Linked DNA regions of Homo sapiens: regions 2, 3, 4, 5 and 6 are each linked to region 1. Evidence: promoter capture Hi-C in 16 types of primary human blood cells and fetal thymus (Javierre and others, 2016). All regions are on one chromosome and are shown on one strand. The core of a region is centred on a gene start or on the middle of the fragment in contact, and the rest is flanking DNA. Distances in the headings are between cores, read along the strand shown.

Evidence for each region. Contacts are between HindIII fragments. The CHiCAGO score rates a contact against its expected background, and 5 or more counts as called.
Region 2: a contact is called between a fragment that was not itself captured here and the fragment with the promoter of UBR2 in region 1, in 1 of 17 cell types (M2 macrophages). The highest score is 5.7, in M2 macrophages.
Region 3: a fragment that was not itself captured here is called in contact with the fragment with the promoter of UBR2 in region 1 in 7 of 17 cell types (M2 macrophages, endothelial precursors, M1 macrophages and 4 more); the score reaches 7.8 in M2 macrophages.
Region 4: a fragment that was not itself captured here is called in contact with the fragment with the promoter of UBR2 in region 1 in 4 of 17 cell types (M1 macrophages, M2 macrophages, M0 macrophages and 1 more); the score reaches 6.4 in M1 macrophages.
Region 5: a fragment that was not itself captured here is called in contact with the fragment with the promoter of UBR2 in region 1 in 4 of 17 cell types (M2 macrophages, M0 macrophages, M1 macrophages and 1 more); the score reaches 5.6 in M2 macrophages.
Region 6: a contact is called between a fragment that was not itself captured here and the fragment with the promoter of UBR2 in region 1, in 2 of 17 cell types (M1 macrophages and M2 macrophages). The highest score is 6.7, in M1 macrophages.

What each region holds. Positions count from the first base shown.
Region 1 is chr6:42,562,061-42,565,944 of GRCh38, reverse strand. UBR2 (ubiquitin protein ligase E3 component n-recognin 2) reads right to left here and starts at 1,916. Exons shown (of 47, transcript NM_001363705.2): 1 at 1,548-1,916. The coding sequence starts at 1,625. RefSeq lists a silencer at 523-652 and enhancers at 1,685-2,204, 2,275-2,354. The HindIII fragment of the contact is 771 bases long and covers 1,829-2,599 here.
Region 2 is chr6:42,169,419-42,173,302 of GRCh38, reverse strand. The region is part of intron 1 of GUCA1ANB-GUCA1A (GUCA1ANB-GUCA1A readthrough); the gene reads right to left. Among named protein-coding and RNA genes, the nearest start is that of GUCA1A, 2.0 kb to the left of the region's middle. The HindIII fragment of the contact is 1,549 bases long and covers 1,224-2,772 here.
Region 3 is chr6:42,221,345-42,225,228 of GRCh38, reverse strand. LOC105375061 (a long non-coding RNA gene) reads right to left here and starts at 490. Exons shown (of 4, transcript XR_001744122.2): 1 at 370-490. It overlaps TRERF1 (transcriptional regulating factor 1), which reads left to right. Exons shown (of 18, transcript NM_001395490.1): 18 at 1-298. RefSeq lists an enhancer at 643-722. The HindIII fragment of the contact is 3,274 bases long and covers 74-3,347 here.
Region 4 is chr6:42,241,804-42,245,687 of GRCh38, reverse strand. TRERF1 (transcriptional regulating factor 1) reads left to right here. Exons shown (of 18, transcript NM_001395490.1): 15 at 2,327-2,440. Among named protein-coding and RNA genes, the nearest start is that of MRPS10, 26 kb to the right of the region's middle. RefSeq lists an enhancer at 3,236-3,818. The HindIII fragment of the contact is 7,735 bases long and covers 1-3,884 here.
Region 5 is chr6:42,261,570-42,265,453 of GRCh38, reverse strand. TRERF1 (transcriptional regulating factor 1) reads left to right here. Exons shown (of 18, transcript NM_001395490.1): 7 at 600-750; 8 at 1,886-2,134. Among named protein-coding and RNA genes, the nearest start is that of MRPS10, 46 kb to the right of the region's middle. The HindIII fragment of the contact is 602 bases long and covers 1,424-2,025 here.
Region 6 is chr6:42,295,364-42,299,247 of GRCh38, reverse strand. The region is part of intron 4 of TRERF1 (transcriptional regulating factor 1); the gene reads left to right. Among named protein-coding and RNA genes, the nearest start is that of MRPS10, 79 kb to the right of the region's middle. The HindIII fragment of the contact is 9,654 bases long and covers 1-3,884 here.

The sequences.
Region 1 (3,884 bases), core at 667-3,166:
TCCTTGAGTTGTACAACATTAAGTAGAAAGTAAATGAAAACAGACCTAGGCTAAACAAGTAAGTAGGTTTAAAAAAACACACCAAGGCAGGGCGCAGTGGCTCACGCCTGTAATCCCAGCACTTTGGGAGGCCCAAACAGGTGGATCACCTGAGGTCGGGAGTTTGAGACCACCCTGACCAACATGGAGAAACCCCAACTCTACTAAAAATACAAAATTAGCCGGGCGTGGTGGTGCATGCCTGTAATCCCAGCTACTCGAGGGGCTGAGGCAGCAGAATCGCTTGAACCCGGGAGACTGAGGTTGCGGTGAGCTGAGATCGCGCCACTGCACTCCAGCCTGGGCATCGAAAGCGAAACTCCGTCTCAAAAACAAAAACAAACAACAACAAAACACACCCAAACAAGCAAAGATTCAGCATTTAACAACGTATTTCTTTAAAGTCTTCACCTCTACTCCTGACATTTCTTTCTACCCGGACTTAATGTCCTCACCAATTCACGCAAAATAACTACTCACTGACCAACAGCTCCACAGTGCCCCCAATCCCAAATTTTGTTCGTAGCATTCAGATTGCTGACTTTTATTCACGGGTCACTCCCTTCCTAGCAGCCTTTTTAATTGGAGGTCTTAGAGGTGGGGCCCAAGCTGTCTTGGTCCATTCATAATCATTCTCGGCAATCTCTTCTAATGGGTGTTCCTACAACTCTGCTATTTACACTAGCATATTCATATTACAGTTTTAATGCAATAGTGCGTTTGAACGGTTTTACGTTTGGAATATAACTGCTCCTACTACACTGTGACCAGTTCTCACGTTTAGCTTATACAGTATTTGTTGAAAGCTGCTCTATCAACGTTATATAACATTTGTTCTCCATCCAATTACCCCTAACTCCTAGAAAAAATATTTTTAAAATTTCCCAGACTCCACGACTACTTTCTCATACTCAGTAAACTTTCCACACATGCATCAACGTTGTCAACTAATCAAACCGGTGCAAAAAAAAAAGATAGCACTGAAACGGATAACGAAGGGTAGTGTCGTTTGCCTTCTTGGTGCCTGGGGCAGTCCCAAAAACAAAAGAGGGGCTCGGTTAGGGTGGCATGTTTAGTCGGAGGAGCACACGGCTTCGCTTGTCTCAGGAAAAGCAATTAACTAGATAAACTAGGGCGATTATACCAAAAACACAAGAAGCGTCTCTTCTCCTCTTCCAAGAGCTGATATAAAGGGCAAAGGCCCATGTGTTGGGAGACTTAATGGGAGGCTGGGGGAAAGGAGGTATGATGGAAGAGCCGTGGGTTCTCCTGGGCAGAAAGGGAAAGTAAACGTAGTTAGTGCACAGCGCAGCTCTGGCAGCTGTTGAAAATGGAAAGAGAGGGGCAGGATCGGTGGCCTCCCCGGGCTATTACCCCACAAGGCGAGGGCCGGCACAGCTGTTTCCCCAAGTCTGGGTCGGGCTGCTCCAGGACGTCCAGGAGTCGGTTCCTCCCCACAGGCGCGGCCTGCGAGGGGCAGACGCACCCGCCCGGGTTCCGGCACTCACCCCCGCAATCTCCTCGGCCGAACATTCCAGCAAGCTCCGGTCGATGGCCTGCACCTCTGGCTCTAGCTCCGACGCCATCTTCTCTCCTCCTCCTCCCCAGCGCTACCGCCGCCCGGAGAGCTGCAGCCTCACCTCGGCCCCGGCGGCCTCGACTGCCACCCCTGCCCCAGGCAATCAGTCCCGGAGCCGTCCAAGTGGCTGCAGGTGGAGCAACAGAGGGAGAGAAGGGTGACGTGAACCGGAAAGGAAGGACAGCGGCCTCCTGCGCTCCCTCCCAAGCTTAGCGCCCAAGAGTCAAGTCACTGGCTCGTCCCTGACCCAGGGAAGGACACAGAAAACCCCAGGCCTGACACTCTCGCTGGCCACTACCGCGTCCTGCACCAGGAAAGGGGCAATAACACCCAGGAGGGGAAGCGGAGCTTTCTGGGTACTGTAGTTCTGGGTGCTGTAGGTACAGCACAGCCGGGAAAAAGGTGGCGCCCTAACACGGTGCCCCTCGAATGCATTGTGGGAGTTGTAGTCCATTCTCAAGGGGCGCTGGCTTAAATGGCAGATAAGCGGGCGGGGCTTTTCTGCCCAACGAGAATCATGGGAAGACAGTCGCGGAAAGCAGCGCCCCCTGGAAAAAAGCCAAAGAGAAAGATACTGTGGGAACTGTAGTTTTATTCTCCGAATCTCGTTTGTTCATTTTTGTATCCCCAGCTTCAAGAACACTGCCTGGCACATGGTAGACCCTCAAGGACTTGCCAGTCTGGCATAGGGTAGGCACTCAAATACTTGTCAAAGGAATGAATGAATTACATTCTATTCCTGTGGTTCTATGTCCTGTCATCCATCGAACCCATATCTTTTATACGAGTAATGGAGGTGAACATTACCCACTTTTTTGAAGGTTTAAAACATGTTTTAAAAAATTTTTCAAAAACTTTAGTGATGACCACTTATAAACTTTATCACAAATCTTGCTGCAAAGGAAAAAGAGTCTATTAGGCCAATTAAAAGATTTCCTCTTGATAGAGACATTTAATTTCTACAGATAATCAGACCAAGCTTGGTGGCTCATGCCTGTAATTCCAGCACTTTGGGAGGCCGAGGGGGGCAGACTACTTGAGCCCAGGAGTTTGAGACCAGTTTGGACAACATAGCGAGACCCTCTTGATAAAAATCAAAAAATTAGCCAGGTGTGGTGGCACGCCTGTAGTCCCAGCTACTCGGGAAGCTGAGGCAGGAGGATTGCTTGAGCCCAGGCAGTTGAGGCCATCGTGAGCTGTGATCAGCCCACTGCACTCCAGCCTGCGTGACACAGCTGAGACCCTGTATCAAAAAAGAAGGAAAAAAAAAAAAAAGAAATAGGTAAACATTGTTAGACTAGCTATCAAAGAAAACTATGTTTAGTTAAAGGTAATTAGACTCTTGACTGACAGCTGGGTGACTGGGCTTCTTAGAAGTCTTCAGTCTCTAGAGTTTGTCAGAAAATTGTTTATACCTTTTGTCAAGTGTGTTAATTTATTCCCAGAAGTAGGTTGTAAATTACATATAGGGGGGAAAAGTTCTGAGCCAGACCAGGTTTAGGACATGTTTATGTTTATGTTGTTTTGGGATTTTTTTTAAACCAATACTATGATATTAACCAGTTTTTTAAAAAAGGAAATAAGAAACTGCCTGTATCCCTGTAACCTCACAATACAAGTAAGCCTTCTTATCACTTTTTAAAAGTTATATATATATATACATATAAAACATCAGAAATTCAAACTCGAAAGGAATGTTTTAAAAAAGGAAAATTGAAAACTTCCTATTCCTCTTACCCCAAGTCCCTCTCCCCAAAGAAAATCATTTTTGACACTGTCTTATGAGTCTGTCCAGAAAAAAGTATGCACATATCTGTACAGATATTTATAATGAGATATCTTGAAATATTCTTCTATGTATTTTTCTTTTTTTGCCCAACTTCCTTACACTGATCCACTCAGGACAGAGTCAACTTGGAAGAAAACTGGGATTGTCCCAGCCTAGAAGCAAAAACAACATCTCTTGAGCTGTCCTAACATAGAATTTAAGTCGTTAATAGACTGTAAAGGCAATTTCTGTTCTTAACATTATTTGCTTCCTAACATTATTTGTTTCAGGCCGAGCATTGTGGCTCACACCTGTAATACCAAAACTTTGGGAGGCCAAGATTGGAGGATAACTTGAGGCCAGGAGTTTGAGACCAGCCTGGGCAACATAGCAAGACCCCATCTCTACAAAAAAATTTAAAAATTAGCCGAACATGGTGGCCCATGTCTGTAGTCCTAGCTACTTTGGGAGGCTGAGACAGGAAAGATCACTTGAGCC
Region 2 (3,884 bases), core at 749-3,248, 390 kb after region 1:
CTTAGAGAAGCAGAGTCCTTAGGATTACAGCCTTGAGCTGTAGGTGAGAGGATTTTTTAACCCAGTTTGCAATCTTCTAATCCCTTCTTACCACCACGGAGTGGGTGTCAGCTAGAAGCTGCTCTGATCCTATGACCTTTGTGACCTTCTTCTCCTGGTTTGAGTGGATTCACAGTGGTTTTGGATTCTGCCTTCAATCATGGAATTGAGGTATATATGAGATAGAGCTGGCTTCTTGTCCAGAGATGGCCAACTGTGGGCTCTTGACAGGGCTGCTGTGTACAGTTATCCAGGCTGTGCACTGCACTTGGCCATCACAACTGAGGGGGTCCAATCATACCATGAGTGTGCTAACATTTGAGGGCACCTGGGTGGATGCAGAGTCTGTGGGCTTCCAAGATAAGCCTTGAACAGCCAGAGAGAACCCCCTCCTACATTAGCCTGCACCAGTACACAGAGACGTGCACACACATACACACACTCGTACACACTCATCCTGTTCTGGCCACACTCTCATGTTCCTGAAGGTTGCATCTCTCCCTTCTTGAGAGCCCTGAATTCATCCTTCCATCTAATTCTGAGCCTCACATCATCACCATCACCTACTAGGGGCACAGGGCAGGGGACATGGAGTGTGCGCCTGGTGCCCTGGGGTATGTGTGAGTGTGAGAGTGCAGGCACACAGGTGCATGGGTGAGCTGCTACCTGCTGGTCCTGGAAAGCTCCCAGGCCAAGCCTGGGGGCCTGTCTATGCAGCAACAGCTTTCTCTGATGCCTGGTGGGATGCGTACTCCCTAGCCACACACTTAAAAGCTGGCTCATTTATGGAACCAGCATTTGGGTGCAGGTGCACTTAACCTGGATGCTGCCAGGAAAGCTTAAAGCCAGCGCTTGCCCTGCCCTGTCTTTTTCTCTTGTTTGCCTTCCTCCTTTACATATGGGGCACACCCAGGTCTCCTAACTCATCTAGAGGGAACCACTGCCCATATTTCTGCTTTCCCCACCAGGGCCTTGGACACTTGGTCAAGTTGTGCACTGATACACAATTTATATGATTTATATAAATAATATATAATTACATGTAAATAGATTTATATAAATATACAATTTATACAACATATAACATATATCAAATACATGTGCATACATATTTCAGAATGGGCTAGGTTATGCTACAGTAACAAACCACTCTAAAATCTCAGTGGCTGAAAACAATACAAGCTTGTTTCTTGCTTACATTACTGGCTGGGTGACCTTGAGCAAGTAACTTAACCTCTCTGGGCCCCAGTTTCCTCATTCTTAAAATAGGAATAATGGCGCCCATCTGATAGGGCTGTTAAGGGGAGTAAGTGGGGCTGGGCACGGTGGCTCACACCTGTAATCCCAACATTTTGGGAGGCCGAGGCGGGTGGATCACTTGAGGCCAGGAGTACGAGACCAGCCTGGCCAACATGGTGAAACCTCATCTCTATTAAAAATACATAAATTAGCCAGGCGTGATGGTGCACACTCCTGTAATCCCAGCTACTCGGGAGGCTGAGGCAGGAGAATCGCTTGAACCCAGGAGGCGGAGGTTGCAGTGAGCCAAGATCGCACCACTGCACTCCAGCCTGAATGACAAAGCGAGACCCTATCTCAAAAAAAAAAAAAAAAAAGAGTATGTGAGTTAATATAAGAAAAGCATTTAGAACAAGGTCTGCCCCAGAGTAAGTGCCCCATAAATCTTGGCTATGATGTTATGATTTTGTATCTATTACAGCAGCATGTCTGATGTGCTGTTCACTACAATCTAGGTGCACTTATACTGCATCTTGGACACAGCAGCATCCCTGGGTTAGAGCCAATCGTGCTCTTGTCCCTTTAGCCCCATTCACTCTGGGCCCTGGACGGCCAGAAGGGCTATGTGTAGGAACAGACATCCAACCTGCCTCACACAGGCCACCTACCAGCTGTAGTCAGGCCCTAGGGAAGGTGGAGGCCTTTGTTAAAGCCTTACCAGATCCAGGCTCACGCCTGTAATCCCGGCACTTTGGGAGGCTGAGGCGGGTGGATCACAAGGTCAGGAGTTCGAGACCAGCCTGGCCAACATGGTAAAACCCCATCTGTACTAAAAATACAAAAATTAGCCAGGCATGGTGGTGGGCGCCTGTAATTCCAGCTACTTGGGAGGCCGAGGCAGGAGAATCACTTCAACCTGGGAGGCGGAGTTTGCAGTGAGCCGAGACTACGCCATTGCACTCCAGCCTGGGCGACAGAGAGAGACTCCATCTCAAAAAAAAAAAAAAAAATTGTTCATAATGAACATATGTTGCTCACAAAATCAAAGAGGATAGTTATTTTTGAAAAAGAGACAAACTGGGACTGTTTTACCTCTACTCCACATGAATTGATTGACGGAAGGTATATGGGGGTGGGGAGCTGGGTTCTCCCTGCTTCAGTCAGCTTCTCCACAACAAGTTAAGGGACGGGGAGAGAAGGACTCCTTCTGTGAACTTGCTTGGGGCCCAGCTGGAAAATGTGTCCTTGCCGAGGACTCTCAGGCCCAAGATTGGGAAATGAAGAGGTTGGGGACAAGGCAGCCGCTCATCTTTCCCTTTCTATTTAAATCCCTCTCACTCTTCATGTGTGAGTACAAATGCCACCTCCTCTGTGAAGCCTTCCCAAATCTCTCTCAAATATCTTCCTCCCACAGCATACTGACATTTTGCTTATGTGTTGTGACAGTTAATTTTAGGACTGGATGAAGGGATTACCCAACAAGCTGGTAAAGCTTTATTTCTGGGTGTTTCTGTGAGGGTGCTTGCCAAAGAGACTGGCATTTGAATTCATGGACTAAGTAAGGAGAATCTGCCTTCAGCCTATGTGGGTGGGCACCATCCAATTGGCTTAGGCCTGGACAGAAGAAAAAGGCAGGGGAAAGGTGAATTCTCTCCCTCTCTCTCTCTCTCTCTGTCCTGGAGCTGGGACACTCTTCTTCTCCTGCCCTTGGACTCCAGGACTTGCACCAGTAGCAACCCCTCCCCACTCTCACGTTCTCAGTCCTTCAGCTTCAGACCCAGAGTTACACCATCAGTTTCCTTGGCTCTGAACCCTTTGGGCTTGAACTGAGCCATGCTACTGGCTTCCCTGGTTCTCCATCTTGCAGATGGCATATTGTGGGACTTCTCAGCCTCCATAAACATGTGAGCCAATCCCCCTAATAAATCTTCTCTCATACCTCTATATATAATCCTATTAGCTCTGTCTCTCTGAAGAACTCTGGCTAATGTGTGTGTTATATTAGTTTTCTATGTTGCATAACAAATAACCACAAAGTCAGCAGTTTTAAAACTACACACATTTATTATTATTATTATTATTATTATTATTATTATTATTATTATTATTTTGAGATGGAGTTTCACTCTTGTTGCCCAGGCTAGAGTACAATGATGCGATCTCGGCTCAGCACAACCTCCTGCCTCCCAGGTTCAAGCAATTCTCCTGCCTCAGCCTCCTGAGTAGCTGGGATTACAGGCATGTGCCGCCATGCCCCACTAATTTTGTATTTTTAGTAGAGACAGGGTTTCTCCATGTTGGTCAGGGTGGTCTCAAACTCCCGACCTCAGGTGATCCACCTGCCTCAGCCTCCCAAAGTGCTGCGATTACAGGCATGAGCCACCGTGCCTGGCCACACATTTATTATCTCACAGTTTCTATGGGCCAGGAGTCCAGGCACAGCTTAGCTGGTCCTCTGCCTAGCGTCTCACAAGGCTGCTCTCAGGGTGTCACCTGGGCTGTATTTTCATCTGGAGGCTCAACTGGGGAAGAATCCACTTCCAACTTATTCAGGTTGTTGGCAGAACTCATTTTGTTGTGGCTATGTGACAAGGGAGCTGGCTTTT
Region 3 (3,884 bases), core at 461-2,960, 340 kb after region 1:
CCTTAAAAAAAAAAAAAAGAAAAAAAAAGGAAACTGGGGCATTCTAGGTTGTTTCCCCTCCAAGTGATAAGCTTTTTTTTTTTCTTAATTATCACAATGCTTCTTCAAAAAGGGAACCAGGGAAATTTTATTTAACACATTCTAATCATTAGCCTCTCAGAAAGTTATTACAGTTCCTATAGATGGGCATTCATCAAATGGAGATGTAACCAAACAGACACTGTCATATTTATTTGTGAAAACCTGATTCAATATTGCATCAGCTGCTCTGAAAATAAAATATTAATCTTTTGCGTTTCGTTTGGCTTAAATATTTCTTCTTTCTAGCCATTGCTATGACTTCTCAATGCTGGATAAATGCTAGTTTACCTGTTAATTGGTTTCCGTAGACAACAAGTTTAAGTCGGCTGATCAAATTTAATGATCATTATTAAAGTGTCCCCCGACTCCGAAGACCAGGACATACATTTCTGCTATTCAAGCAGTGGATGAACCACTTGGGTTCGTAAACCTTATGACTCAAACTGTGTCATAAACTCAAACTGAGTCATAAACCTTATGACTCAAACTGTGATTCAAGGGAGCACACTGTGACATACAGGTGTCTTACACTAAATCCTCCACAAAGTCTTAAGTCCACCCCGATTTATTTGCATTTTAAATCTGAATTTCCAAATTTGAGTAAGTAAGTTTACTTTTTTTTTTTTGACAGTCTTGCTTTGTTCCCCAGCCTGGAGTGCAGTGGCACGATCTTGGCTCACTGAAGCCTCCACTCCTGGGTTCAAGCAATTCTCACGGGTCAGCTCCTCTAAGTCCACCCCGATTTATTTGCATTTTAAACCTGCATTTTCAAATTTGAGTAAGTATGTTTACTTTTTTTTTTTTGAGACAGAGCCTTGCTTTGTTCCCCAGCCTGGAGTGCAGTGGCATGATCTCAGCTCACTGAAGCCTCCACTCCTGGGTTCAAGCAATTCTCACGGGTCAGCCTCCCAAGTAGCTGGGACTATACAGGTCATGCACCACCACACCTGGCTAATTTTTGTATTTTATTAGAGGCGAGGTTTCGCCATGTTAGCCAGGCTGGTCTCGAACCCCTGGCCTCAAGAGATCCGTCTGAGGCCCGCCTCGGCCTTCCAAAGTGCTGGGATTACAGGTGTGAGCCACTGCACCTGGCTGTATGTTTACTTTTTTTTTTTTTTTTTTTTGAGACAGAGTCTCCCTCTGTCACCCAGGCTGGAGTGCAGTGGTGTGATCTCAGCTCACTGCAAGCTCTGCCTCCCGGGTTGATGCCATTCTCCTGCCTCAGCCTCCCGAGTAGCTGGGACTACAGGCGCCCGCCACCACACCCTGGCTAATTTTTTGTATTTTTAGTAGGGACGGGATTTCACCTTGTTAGCCAGGATGGTCTCGATCTCCTGACCTCATGATCCACCCGCCTCGGCCTCCCAAAGTGCTGGGATTACAGGCGTGATGTATGTTTACTTTTCATGGTCAACAGAAAACTATAGAAGAACTTTCAAATTCTGGATTTCATACAGAAGTTTACAGAATTTTACAAAAATAAATTTGCTTTAAGTGGGGAATGCCTATTCAAGACCTTGATCTAGATTCTTTTGGAGGGTGGGGGGGGTGGGGAAGGGGGGTTGTTGTTGTTTTTAAACTAATAGAGACAGGGTCTCACTATGTTGGCCAGGCTGATGTTGATCTCCTGGCCTCAAGCAATCCTTCTGCCTTGGCCTCCTGAAGTGCTAGGATTATAGACATGAGCCACTGCACCTGGCCTCTTTTGGATTTTTTTTGTTTTTGAGACGGAGTCTCACTGTCGCTCAGGCTGGAGTGCAGTGGCGCGATTTGGGCTCACTGCAACCTCCACCTCCCGAGTTCAAGGGATTCTCCTGCCTCAGCCTCCCGAGTAGCTGGGACTACAGACCACCACGCCTGGTTAATTTTTTTTTTTTTTTTTTTTTTTTTTTAGTAGAGATGGGTTTCACCGTGTTAGCCAGGATGGCCTGGATCTCCTGACCTCATGATCCACCCACCTTGGCCTCCCAAAGTGCTGAGATTACAGGTGTGAGCCACTGCGCCTGGCCTTTTTTGGTTTTTGACTTTAATTTTAGCTGTTTACTTTAGACAACCTATACCAAATAAAATAGCTATTCCTCTAGAAACTGTGTGCCTTAGCCAGTGCTGTAAATTTAAAGTCTACTTCTGGAGGCCTAATTGGAAGATTTTTTTCTACTTTTATTCAGTCAGTCGATCCTCATGAGCCACCATTATTCCATACTGTATTATACAGGGGGAGGAGAGTGTATAAAGATGGCTGTACATGATTCCTTCCTGCCAAGGAATTTAATACCTAGAAAGACATATGGGGGCCTTGGAACAGATTCAATTCCAGGATTGAGAAGAGACCTATCAATATTCGGAATCCTCTCACCATCACCCACATGTACACAGCAATTTATAGCGGGTGCTCAGCAACTATTTGTTCAATGAGTTAACTCGCCAGTCCTCCAGGTACGCTCATCCATGTGTGCATTTGGCAGAGAGAGAATGTGTGTGTAAATCCTGAATTCCATTTACTCCCTATCTACCATCCTCAGCCACCGCCAGCGAGCTGAGATGTGCTCTAGGAATGTGGATGAGAGTTCATGTTGACACAGCAAAGCATAATTAGGAAGACATTTTAAGAAATTGAATAATATATTCCTAAGAGAACCATAAGTGATCTTTGAATTGTAGATATCCCTGTGTAAAGGAGCCAAAGGGCCAGTCGTGATGGCTCACTCCTGTAATCCCAGCACTTCGGGAGGCCGCGGCGGGTAGATCACCTGAGGTCAGGAGTTTGAGACCAGCCTGACCAACATGGAGAAACCCTGTCTCTACTAAAAATACAAAAATTAGCCAGGCATAATGGCGCATGCCTGTAATCCCAGCTACTCGGGAGGCTGAGGCAGGAGAATCCCTTGGACCCAAGAGGCAGAGGTTGCAGTGAACCGAGATCAAGCCATTGCACTCCAGCCTGGGCAACAGGAGTGAAACTGTGTCTCAAAAAAACAATAATAATAAAAATAAATATAAAAAAAGGAGCCAAAGAGCTGATTACTTCCTTTATGTACGAGAGGATCTTTTGGAAAGGACTGTCTTTAAAAACAGAACAACTGGCACAATCAAAATATGATTAACTGTAAAATATTTGATGTATCTATGTTTATTTTTTCTGGACATAAAGCAAGGTTTACTTGCATCAACTATCTAGAATCATTGGACTCCTGCTCCTCTACATGAGGTTGGGTGTCTGGAAGTTTAGGCTGTAGGAAAGAGACCCTTAACGGATAGGCCAAGCTTCAGAACGCTGTCCCTGCCCACACCTCATGCCAAAGAGCACTGTTCACAGCCCTACTCTGGGCAAAACCTGATGTTGCCCCTTACAATGAGTTCTACCTAGGCCCTAGCAAGTCGGCACTTGATCCCAAACCATTAGGCCCCTAGGCCGTGTGGTGACACATTTGGCTCAGCCCAGGAAGATGAGAGAACCAAATCAAATTTCCACATTTGAGAGTATGAATGGAGAAACTTGATGAGCCAAAAGCAGAGAGCAGTGGCCATGCAGAGTCCTGAGGGAGCAGAAACTATTGGTAAGCAGTGAAAGCCCATCATTAAAAAGAACACATTTGGCCTCAGGAGTGAAGAGGGTATCCAGTCCCTAAGACTGTTTAAAGCATACCTTTCCAGTTCCAGGAGCTGTCCAGACCACACAGGTCTTTAAAAATAAGCCCCTATTTCTTTTGGAGTGGTGCTAGGGTGGTGGGTATTTCTAGTCCTATTATCCAAGAGATTTAAATAGAACCGAACCTCATCATAGAATCAGCACCAGCCCACTG
Region 4 (3,884 bases), core at 536-3,035, 320 kb after region 1:
AAAATACCTTGCGTATACAGCATTCGAAAGCAAAATAAAACTTTCACATAGATGAAATAGCACTTTATACAACAGATAAACTTATTGACTTTATTGGCTGAGAGATGGTTTAGTGTAAAAAATTAAAATCATTCAAAGAGTGTTTCAACAAACTGATGAATGATGGAGCCATATTGTGTTAAAGCCATTTAAGGCTGTTCAGGTACACAAAGAACAGGGCGCAGTTGATAGCACCCACTGGCCCCTGGCTGAGACAGATGGTCCTCGGAGGTGTCCTAGGGTGGCATGTCTCCTGTTGTCAGTCTAGGGCCTTGCCTGGGCAAGTGTGAAAAGCAGGAGGACTTTGTCTCTGACTTGCCTCCGCCTCGCCTCCGCCTCCATCTCTGCATTTGCTCCTGCCTTGCCCTTGGCGGCTGCCATGCCTTTGCTGCCCTGTGTGCCCAGCAGCTCTCATGCTTCATCTTTCTAGAGTCACCCTCCCCTCCAGGACTGGCCTGGCATAGACCTCAATCCTTTAGGCCCCACACTTGCGACTGATGATGGATTCGTGTATTGAGCTTACCAGGCAACCTGGGTTTTAACCCAGGGCTCTCTGGGACGGGCACTGTCCTCACTCCCTCAGGTGATTCTAGTGTGGAAATTCCAGGTGTCAGGGGGATGAGAAGGGGGCAACTTTGAGGAGACAGGACTGGGTGCCCCTCTCATCTCACCATGTAGGTGGCCTTGTTCCCACCCTCAAGGGTAAGGCCAGCCTTTAATCTGCCTCCAGCAAACCCACGTTATTACACCTCACCTGATCATACAGCATATGAACTAAACAAAGGAATGTTTCTGTCTTAAGATGCATAGACCTTTGCCTGTTTGGGGTTGAATAGGGCAAGGCCCATTTCCTGCAAAACCTAAGCTCTGTCATCATAACTTTTGCCTTATATTCCTATTCCATTACTAAGGAACATTTCTCATAAGCATATTTTGAAGGTCAAGTTAGAGACATTCAAGCATATTAAATGAAAAAGCAGCTGCTTTATGGGTTAAAAAAATGAGTAAGTCTGTAAGGACTGATCTGAAAAAATTTCCAAGCTATATTGAGAAAAAAATCAAGTTGCAAAGCAGTATTTATAGTGTGCTCCCTTTTGTGAGGAAAGATGGTGGGGGAGGGAATATATTTTTGTGTGTGCTGGTACATGCATTAGAAAATTCTGGAGGCCAGGCACAGTGGCTCACACCTGTAATCCCAGCACTTTGGGAGGCCAAGGCAGGCGGATCACCTGAGGTCGGGAGTTCGAGACCAGCCTGACCAACATGTAGAAACCACGTCTCTACTAAAAATACAAAATTAACTGGGCGTGGTGGTGCATGCCTGTAATCCCAGCTACTCAGGAGGCTGAGGCAGGAGAATCGCTTGAACCCAGGAGGTGGAGGTTGTGGTGAGCCGAGATCGTGCCATTGCACTCCAGCCTGGGCAACGAGAGTGAAACTCCATCTCAAAAAAAGAAAAAAATTCTGGAATGGGTGTTGTGACTCAATGCCTGTAATGCCAGCAATTTGGGAGGCCCAGGCAGGAGGATCACTTGAGGTCAGGAGTTCGAGACTAGCCTGGCCAACATGGTGAAACCCCATCTCTACTAAAAATAGAAAAAAATGAGCCAGGTGCGGTGGCGGGTGCCTGTAATCCCAGCTACTTGGGAGGCTAAGGCAGGAGAATTGCTTGAATCTCGGAGGTGGAGGTTGCAGTGAGCCAAGATGGTGCCACTGCACTCCAGCCTCGGCAACAGAGCAAGACTCCATCTCAAAAAAAAAAAAAAAAAGGCTGGGCGCAGTGACTCACGCCCGTAATCCCAGTGCTTTGGGAGGCCGAGGTGGGCGGATCACGAGGTCAGGAGATCAAGACCATCCTGGCTAACACAATGAAACCCCGTCTCTACTAAAAATACAAAAAATTAGCCGGGCATGGTGGCGGATGCCTGTAGTCCCAGCTACTCGGGAGGCTGAGGCAGGAGAATGGTGTGAACCTGGGAGGCAGAGGTTGCAGTGATCCGAGATTGCGCCACTGCACTCCAGCCTGGGCGACAGAGCAAGACTCCGTCTCAAAAAAAAAAAAAAAATCTGGAATGGTAGCCAAAGAAATTAATGCAAGGGGCTACCTGTGTTGCAGGGTGAGGGGTAAGGACAGGCGTGTGAAGGAGGCCTTTCACCAGGTACATTTTTTTCTTGAACTGTACAAACTTGTTTATTACCCTATTACAAAATTAAATATTCAAAAATGCTTGCTACCTTTGCTCTCTGCCCATTGCTGGAGCTAACCTTGAGTTCGCTTTCCCGGCAGGTGAAGTCCAAGACGGTGGCTCAGTGCGTGGAGTACTACTACACGTGGAAAAAGATCATGCGGCTGGGGCGGAAACACCGGACACGCCTGGCAGAAATCATCGACGATTGTGTGGTGAGTGAAGCTGCTAAGTTGTTGCTTGTGCTGGGACAGCTCCCACCCCAGGCCCAGGTTAGTAAGTAGCTGGTGTTTGGTTTGGCTTTGCTGCCAAGATAGCCAGAGGAAGGAGGTGACAACAGCCCAGCTCTCCTGCAGGATTCAGGACCTACCCTCCTGAGTAGGTTTAAAGGAAAGAAGTCCATAGGTTTGGCCTGTAGCTCAGTGTTCAGAAACAGAGGTGAGGGCTGGTGCCCGCTTCAAGGCAGCTAGGAGCCAGAAGAATTAAACCAAGGATGGTCCCAGCCTTGGGTTTGTTGGTTTATGATTGGGTGGTGTCCTGACCCCCTGGAATATTCTTTTTTGATCTTTCCATGTCATAGATGCTACTGACCTGAGCCCATAATGTGCCTCAGAAAGGGTCCCTGGGATTTTGCCACAGTCTGTAAAGCATGAGCAAGAGGAGCTTTGACCTCTAGGTAGTGCCAGGAACCCTCCATCATTAAGGAACTAATTCGCTGCATGTAGATGATTCTAATCCTTACATCACCATTATCCCTGGTATTGATTTCCTTCATTAGCAGACAGTCCACAGTCAACTGCACATTAAGTACGTACCAAAGACACAAGAAGACCTAACTAGTCTCTGAACCCTGTATGTGTGGCTTTGATGATTACTATCACTTGTGATCCTTGCAATTAACTCTCCACCCTGCATCCATAGCCATGGGAAATCTCCTTTTCACACTCTGTGGAAAACATTACCTACCATATATGTGTATATAAAAATTATGTCTGACATTACTAAACTCTAGCTTTTGTCACCATCAGTGAAAGTATTGGGAATTCATGAATTATGTAAATATTTGAAATTATATTTTCATTCCCAATTGTGCCCCAGTTGTAAGGGTTAGCACATGTATGTGTGTTATTTTCTTTAACAGACAGTGAAACAGCAGTTTTCATGTGCCAGGCATTGTGTTAGGGACTTTATAAATATTGACTCATTTAATCCAATGTAATTCATTTAATACCAATTCTATGCAGTAGGAAACTGAAGCACAGAGCTTAAGCAAATTGGCCATAGTCACACAGCTGCTGAGCGTGTTGTTAAGCCTGATTCCCTTGTGTAGTTAAGAGCAGTCAGATGCAAATTTTCTTTTGTTTGTTTGAGACAGGGTCTCACTTTGTCGCTCAGGCTAGAATGCAGCGGCATGATCATAGCTCACTACAGCCTCAACTTCTTGGGCTCAAGCAATCCTCCCACCTCAGCCACCTGAGTAGCTGGGACTACAGGCACACACCACAACGCCCCACTCATATTTTAATTTTTTGTAGAGACAACGTCTCACTTTGTTGCCCAGGCTGTTCTCAGACTCCTGAGCTTAAGCAGTCCTCCTGCCTTGGCTTCCCAAAGTGCTGGGATTACAGGCTCACCCCTGTAATCTCAGGCCACTGCACC
Region 5 (3,884 bases), core at 475-2,974, 300 kb after region 1:
GTTACATATCAAGTAACAATGCTGGGATTGACTGCAAAGCCCATGTTCTGTCCACTGTGCATTCATTCAGTATTTATTGAGTGCCTACTGTGTGCCAAGCATAGAGCTAGGTTTTGAGAATGCAGCAGTGAACAGTACAGACTTGCTTCCTCATCCCATGGGCATGGTCAATAAAGATTTAGCCAAACCTGATAAACTGCTGAAGCGTGCAGTACGGCGGCTGCCCCAGGAACTTGCACAAATGTCTCTAAGTGGGGAGGCTTTTGGAGGAGCTGGGCTCAGGCTGACCCTGGAAGGGTAATAAGCTATCGTTCCCAAGTCAAAATCCATTGCCTGAAGCCTTGGTATGAAGAAGGACATTTTGTTCAATTCTTGCATGACTTTGAGAAGGCCTTTTCCCACTCTGGAGCCTCAGTTTTTCATCTATAAATTGAACTTTGTTCTCTAAAGGGCACTGGGGTGATACAAGTGGTGCCATGGACAATGGGATCATTGGATGAATGAAATGGGTTTGTGGTGGGTATGAGGTCTTGTGGCAAGTCACTGTTTCCCCTTCCTCAACGTATGTGTCCTCTCCATTTGACTCTTCCCTTGAGCAGTGGCCAACCCAAAGGAGCGTTTGGGGAGCAGTTTGATGCCAAGAACAAGCTGACATGCTCCATCTGCCTGAAGGAGTTCAAGAACCTGCCTGCCCTGAATGGCCACATGCGGTCCCACGGGGGAATGAGGGCCTCCCCCAACCTCAAACAGGTTAGCAGGAGCCAGTTCCCGGTCCTTTCTAGGTCGTGTGCTGCTTGCTTTGCTTTGCTGCCGTCAGACAGAGAGTGATGTGAGCCCCATGCGGGACCTGGCGAGGCACAGTCCTCCCTTGACAGGAATGCTTAGGCTTTGGCGCTGGGAGCCAGCCAGGTCAAGCAGCCCCACTTCCCCAGCTTTATGATGAGCAAGGGTCAAAATCAGAGGCGCTAGAAAGCCTTTTAGGGCATCCCAGCTTCTCTCTCTGCCTCCTGGAGAAGACAGCAAAGGAAAACATGTAAATGCAATATTATTTTTAAACTTCTGCTGCTTGACACACCCAAGACCAGGCCCACTGGGGCCTTCCAGATTAGTGGTCAATTGCCAGAGAAAGCTAATATAATCATCAGGCTCTCAGCCAGAATTTTCTATTTACTGATGCAGTGGTGTTCAGCTCAACATCCAAAGATCCTTAAATACCCTCTGGATTATCCAGGTAGGATATCCAGATAGTAAACTATCCACAAATTTTAGAGTTAGATTAAAATCAAAAAATTTTCTCAGAATTATTTTAATATTGTTACTCTTAATTTAAATCTATGGGATTAAATCTCTGTTGAACAGAATTTTTGATTACCCAGATCACTCCATCTCCTGGCCATGCCAGATTATGTTTTTTAAAAAAGCTTTTGTCTTTACTTGTTAAAAGTACATGTTTTGTATCTCCAGTGTGGTTTCCTGACCTGAATAAAATTTAGGATGGAATGCCTATTTCCATTTGACAAATGAGTGAACTAAGGCCCATAGAATTAAAAACTCCTACACAAGATCGTACCTTCTTTTGGACTGATTACAAGTCCGTGTCCCTTTCTTTAAAAGCATGACAACCACACAATTTTTTTAAAATAGTTTAATACACAAGTAATGCATGGTCAAGAATTTTTAACTGTAAAAAATGGAGTCCAGCCTCTTCCACCATCAGCTGGCATCACTCCAGCCAAGGGACTCAGGATTGCAGGAAGGAAATCGCCCTGCAGCGGTTCTCTATCACCCATACCTGATGTCCTGGAACCTTTCGGGAAAAGCAAAGTGCATCCCCCTTGTGAGAGCTGCTCTCAGCCCAGGATCAAAGCCTTTATTGTCTGTGTAGGAGGAAGGAGAGAAGGTCCTGCCGCCTCAGCCCCAGCCACCACTGCCGCCTCCGCCTCCGCCTCCGCCGCCACCACAGCTCCCTCCCGAGGCAGAAAGCCTCACGCCTATGGTCATGCCCGTGTCTGTCCCTGTCAAGCTTCTCCCGCCCAAGCCCAGCTCTCAGGGGTTCACCAACAGCACCGTTGCCGCCCCCTCCGCCAGAGACAAGCCAGCCAGCTCGATGTCGGACGACGAGATGCCTGTGCTCGTGAGGATGACCCTCTCTCCCCCACACTCACCCCAAGGGGCTGCCCCCCGCACGCCTGCTGTGAGTTGCTGCTCTGCCCCACCTGCCTGGGTGGGGACATCCCTTTGCTTTCTTGGAGATGGGGCGGCCCTTCCAGAGTCACTGACCTGAGCTTGGATACGGCTTGGTCTCTCAGGGCTGAACCCGTGGCCACATTGGGAACCCTACCCTTGTTCACACTGCCTGCTCCCCATTAAATGCCAAACTAATGGCCTAGGTTAGATTCTGAGAGACCCGAAAGTGTTCCCAGGTTTAAACAGAGACGATCATTCAGCTGGGAGTCACTGAGACAATCATAGCCATTATTGAAATATGGAAGTCCTGTATCCCAGAAAGTAAGCAGCTGTTGCCCCAGGCCCTGGCCCCTTCCCCAGGATCTCCAGACCTCCCAAATCCACAACCAAAGAGGTAACCACTGGCGCAGCAGGCTTCCAGGCAATAGCCCTGGCATCCATTCTGACAAGCAGCCTTACCAGTTGCTTAATATTTTTGTCTGCTTAAATACCCTGGAGAACCTAATTCGTTAAAGTTCCCAAAGTAGTTCCACTGAGAGCCACCCACCCCTAATCTCAGGAAAGCAAAGAGATTTGTTTTTCTCACTCACTGTTCTCCTTTCTCCAATTTTAAGTGCTTCACTCAAACAGCTTAATTTGCCTCTGGGAAGGGTTTCCGTCTGTCTGTCTCTCTCTCTCTCTCTCTCTCTCTCTCTCTCTCTCTCTCTCTCTCTCTCTCTCTCTCTCTCTCTCTCTCTCTCTCTCTCTCTCTCTCTCTCTCTCTCTCTCTCTCTCTCTCTCTCTCTCTCTCTCTCTCTCTCCTCTCTCTCTCTCTCTCTCTCTCTCTCTCTCTGCCCCTAGGGAATTTGTGACCTGTGTGGTTGGCAATATCAAACCTACCCCCTCCCCACAAAGTGGCATGTTGGGTCATATTTGTCCTTAGGAATAGGTAGCTGCTGGGAATCCAGGAGGCATAAGGGTAGGCTGGGCCAGGGTAGAGGGAGAGAAGATAATGAATACAACTAGAAAAGTACAGAAAAAAACCTTTATGGTGTAATATCAAGTCCTCAAAAGAAGAGAAACTGATGGAGAACTGGGGGGAAGATTCTCATAAGCCGTCAGGACTTGGGGGTCAGCAACAGGCAGAGAGATGAAATGACACATCCAAGCTCCCTCTTTGCCCAGGGAAGTTCGTGCTTTGGCAGGAGAAACAGTGTTTCCTTGGGGAAATAGTTCCCTTGGGGAACTCTCAATTAAGAGTTCATAGTCACATGGGGGTCAGAGTCCCAGGCACACCCCCCCCACCCCTTCAAGATGGTAAGAGAAAGACAGGGGCAGACAAGAAATTGATGCTTTAAGTGTGACTGGATGAGAATACACCTGGGTAGCCAAAGTCATTATGGACTGGGGAGGGGCAAGGGAGTTTGCTCAGGAGATCACCATTAGAGTTCTGAGCAGGATTTTGAAGGAAGGGATGAACTTGGCTTAATGGAAGGGTGAGAGAGACCTCGTTGGTGGGGGCGGTAGGCTGAAGTGGAAGCATGTAGGTGGGACTGAATACATGGGAACAAGGCCCTGGCACTTAATGTAAAGAAATTAAAACATCCAGGAAGGAGCCCCGAGTGCCCATCTCAGTTTGGCTCCTAGCCAGCTGGGATGAAGACAGCTGAGACCTGCCCCCCACTCACAGCCTCAGTTTCCTCCCCTGACCTTGATAG
Region 6 (3,884 bases), core at 406-2,905, 270 kb after region 1:
TAGATGATAGATAGATAGATAGATAGATAGATAGATAGATAGATAGAAAAAAACAGACTCTATGTGTGTTTTTTCAGGGGTTATCCAGCTAGCTAGATATATATATATATGTAGATAGATAGATAGATAGAGACAGACAGACAGACAGACAGATAGATAGATAGATATTTTTAGAGACAGGGTCTTGCTCTCTTGCCCAGGCTAGCTTCAAACTCCTGGGCTCAAATGATACTCTCACCTCCTCCTCCCGAGGAGCTACCTTAGCTTTTTTTGTTTGTTTGTTTTTTGTTTTGTTTCGTTTTGTTTTTGAGACGGAATCTCTCTCTGTTTCCCAGTCTGAAGTACAGTGACACAATCTTGGCTCCCTGCAACCTGCACCTCCTGGGCTCAAGCAGTTCTCCTGCCTGAGTCTCCTGAGTAGCTGGGACTACAGGCGTCTGCTACCACGCCTGGCTAATTTTTGTATTTTTAGTAGAGATGGGATTTCACCATGTTGGCCAGGCTGGTCTCAAATTCCTGACCTCAGGTGATCCACCCGTCTCGGCCTCCCAAAGTGCTGGGATTACAGGCATGAGCCACCGTGCCCCACCAATTTTTGTATTTTAAGTAGAAACAGGGTTTTACCCTGTTGGCCAGGCTGGTCTCGAACTCCTGACCTCCAGTGATCCACCCACTTCAGCCTCCCAAAGTGCTGGCATTACAGGCGTGAGCCACCACCCTCAACCTATTTTACGTTTTCATCTCTTTGTCTCTCTGTGCTGAACTCTGAATAATTTATTCAAATCTATCTTCTGGCCGGGGGAATAGCTCATACCTGTAATCCCAGCACTTTGGGAGGCCTTGGTGGGTGGATCACCTGAAGTCAGAAGTTCAAGACCAGCCTGGCCAACATGGTGAAACCCCATCTCTACTAAAAATAAAAAAATTGGCCAGGTGTGGTGGCGCGCACCTATAATCCCAGCTACTCTGGAGGCTGAGGCACAAGAATCACTTGAACCCTGGAGGTGGAGGTTGCTGTGAGTTGAGACCATACCACTGCACTCCAGCCTGGGTGACAGAGCCAGACTTTGTCTCAAAAAAAACAAAAACAAAAACAAAAACAAAAAAAAACAACAACTATCTTCTATTTAACTAATTTATTATGTGTCTAAAATGCTCTTTAACCCATTCATTGGATTTTTTCTTTTTGCTTTATTTATTTGTCATTTCTAGAAGTTCTGCTTGGTGATTTTTCTGGTCTCTCATTTCTTGCTCATATTTGAAGATGTTTATTTCTTTAAAATATTAAATTTGCTATTTAGAAATTTTATAATTTTGTGTCTTGTAATTCCCAAATCTGAAGTTCTTGCAGGTCTGGTTCTGCCACTTGTTGTTTCTGCTGGCTGGTATTCATAATGCCTTGTTTCCTGTGAATTGCTCATTTTTTCTTGGCACTTTATCTTAGGGAATTATCTGAGGTGTGGGTTGAGTTGTCTTTTCCAGAGAGGATTTGGTTAACTTCTGCTGGTTGTCTGGTGGGCATTACCAACAAAAATCACTTTAAATTAATTTTCTAGTTAAGGCTTTTCTGGCTACCCAAGTAATATAATTCAGGCTACAAACCTGTGTGAAGTCCAGCTATGGTTACACATTTTCAGCAGAGAGATTTTCCCCCCATTCTGCTCAGCCCTTGCAAGGTCCAGTTTTCTTGCAGTCTCTGTGTTGTGCATTTACTTCTCATTCACCAAGTCGAATGAATTTTGTGGAGTGGAGCCATTTGAAGTCCCAACTTTGTGGAGGGGTCTCCCTAGGCTCTTAACCCTGTGCTGCTGTCATTGGGAAACTTAGAATCTCCAGGTTTCAGCAGAAACCCTCAGGGCAAAAGCCAGCTTTGATGCCAGCTCACCTTCCAAGGTTCCTGCTTTGGGTTTGTTTTGGTCTTTTCATTTGTACTATCTCAGCAATGTGTATTCAGTCTTTATATCTAAAATTGTATCCAGCATATTAGTTCTTTCCATTAGGAGGGGCAAGTAAGGTATCCGGTCTGCCATATTGCCAAAAGTATATCTTTTTCTTCTCCACAATAGTCAGGAGGGCAGGAATTTCTATTTCTTCACAGAAGAGTGACCTGAAGCTCAGAGAGGGTGTAGCCATAGGCCTAGCAGGTGAAAGGCTGGGAGAGAATATGTCCCTCTCCTCTCCTCTCTCCCCACGATAACTGTTGACCATTGGCAAGGACAAACTTTAGTCCCACAAAGAATATGAGTTGCTACCAAAATGTTTTAACTAGCTGAACAGCTTTGTACAATTTGTTTATGAATCTATTGTTTATCTTCCTTGAGGGAGGAAATGGCTTCTCCATATTTTGTGGCTTGTTTGTCTGGCAGTCACCAGCAGCCCTCCTGCTTCATTCCCATTCTGCAAAAAGTCTCCTGAACCTGAAGCCAGATCCCGTGGGCTTCTCATCCAGACCTTGGCTTCCTTTCCTCCTTATGCTACTCTCTCCTTCTCACCTTCTTCCCTTCCCTCTGCCTCTTTTTCCTTTTCCCCTCTCCCCATCCTTCCTGCGATTGGTTTTTCTTTTTCATGGTGGCGTGCCTTTCATTGGAGGGGAGTCTACAGAGCACAGTGGTTTGGCTTTTGGGCTTTGAGGGGCAGGGAGAAAGAGCTGAGTTTGAACCTACCTCTGCCACTTAACAGCTGAATCTCTCTGAGCTTCCGTTTCTTCATTGGTCACATGGGGACAGTGGATAGAGCTATTCAAGGACTTAATGAAATGATGCCTGTAGAGCTTGTAACACAGAGCTTGGATATCATCAGTGCTTGGTCAGTGGTGGTTCATATAACTATGACTGAGAACAGACCACTTCAAGGCCAGTGTTCTTGTTGGTGATGCTTTTAAATTGACAAAGCCAGTTTATAAAATGAGATTAAAATGGAGGCAGAAATCTAATGTAAATGTGGGAATCCCAGCCTCTTTATGATGTTCTTTGAACTGGGGTGTTTTTAAAAATAATCTGAGGGAAGATAGAACGCACTGGTCTGGCCAGTGTTTGTGGAAGATGTAAACCAGGGGTTCTGAAAATGGGGCCTAGACCTCCACACTCCATATCTTGGCCCTCCCGCTGAGCTGTGCCCTGTGTCCTGGTGCCGTGGTGGGGCTGGGGCTGCGTGGACTCACTGTGGAGGTTTCCCTTGCAGGGCCCCCAGATCAAGGGATGGCATTACTGCTCTGAGGACACATTTTCAGCAGTGATGGGGCTGGGGGAGAAGGGTCGTGAATGTCCTTTAGCTCTATTCTTATAGCTGGCATGAGACTTCACTTTTCACGCCCTCTTGTAATAAATGGCTTTATATTACACCTAGACATGTGTCGTTTCCTGATTTGATATCTATCAGGCAACAAGTCTTTTTTTCAAAGCCTGCTATTTATAGTGACTCTGGGCTTTGTATAGTGGGCAAGTACTATAAAAGAATGCATAAAGTTGCTGTGAATCTAAAACTACTCTAAAATTAAAGTCTATTCATCACAAGAGGACTTTGTAACCAAAAAAAATGCATAAAGTCTAAAACATCTTCATAAGATTGTTAGGTACTCAGAGTGGATATCCAAGAGGGAAAAACACGATGCCCTTCAATGGTCAGGGAGGGCTTCCTGGATGAGGCTGGATGATGATTTGAGCTGGTCTTATGGGGCAGCCAAGGTGAGGCTGCTGGAGAAGGAGCCTCATGCATCCTGGGTGTAGAAGTGGTAGGAACTGGGGTTTAGAAAGCCCCACAGATGGCCTTTGTGGTCCCTCTTGGAGCACCATCTCCCATTATCAAAAGCCCTCAGAAGTCCTGCGGCTAACATTTGACACCAGATTTCCCAAGTGTGTTTGACCACTCATAGCTGATGAACATGG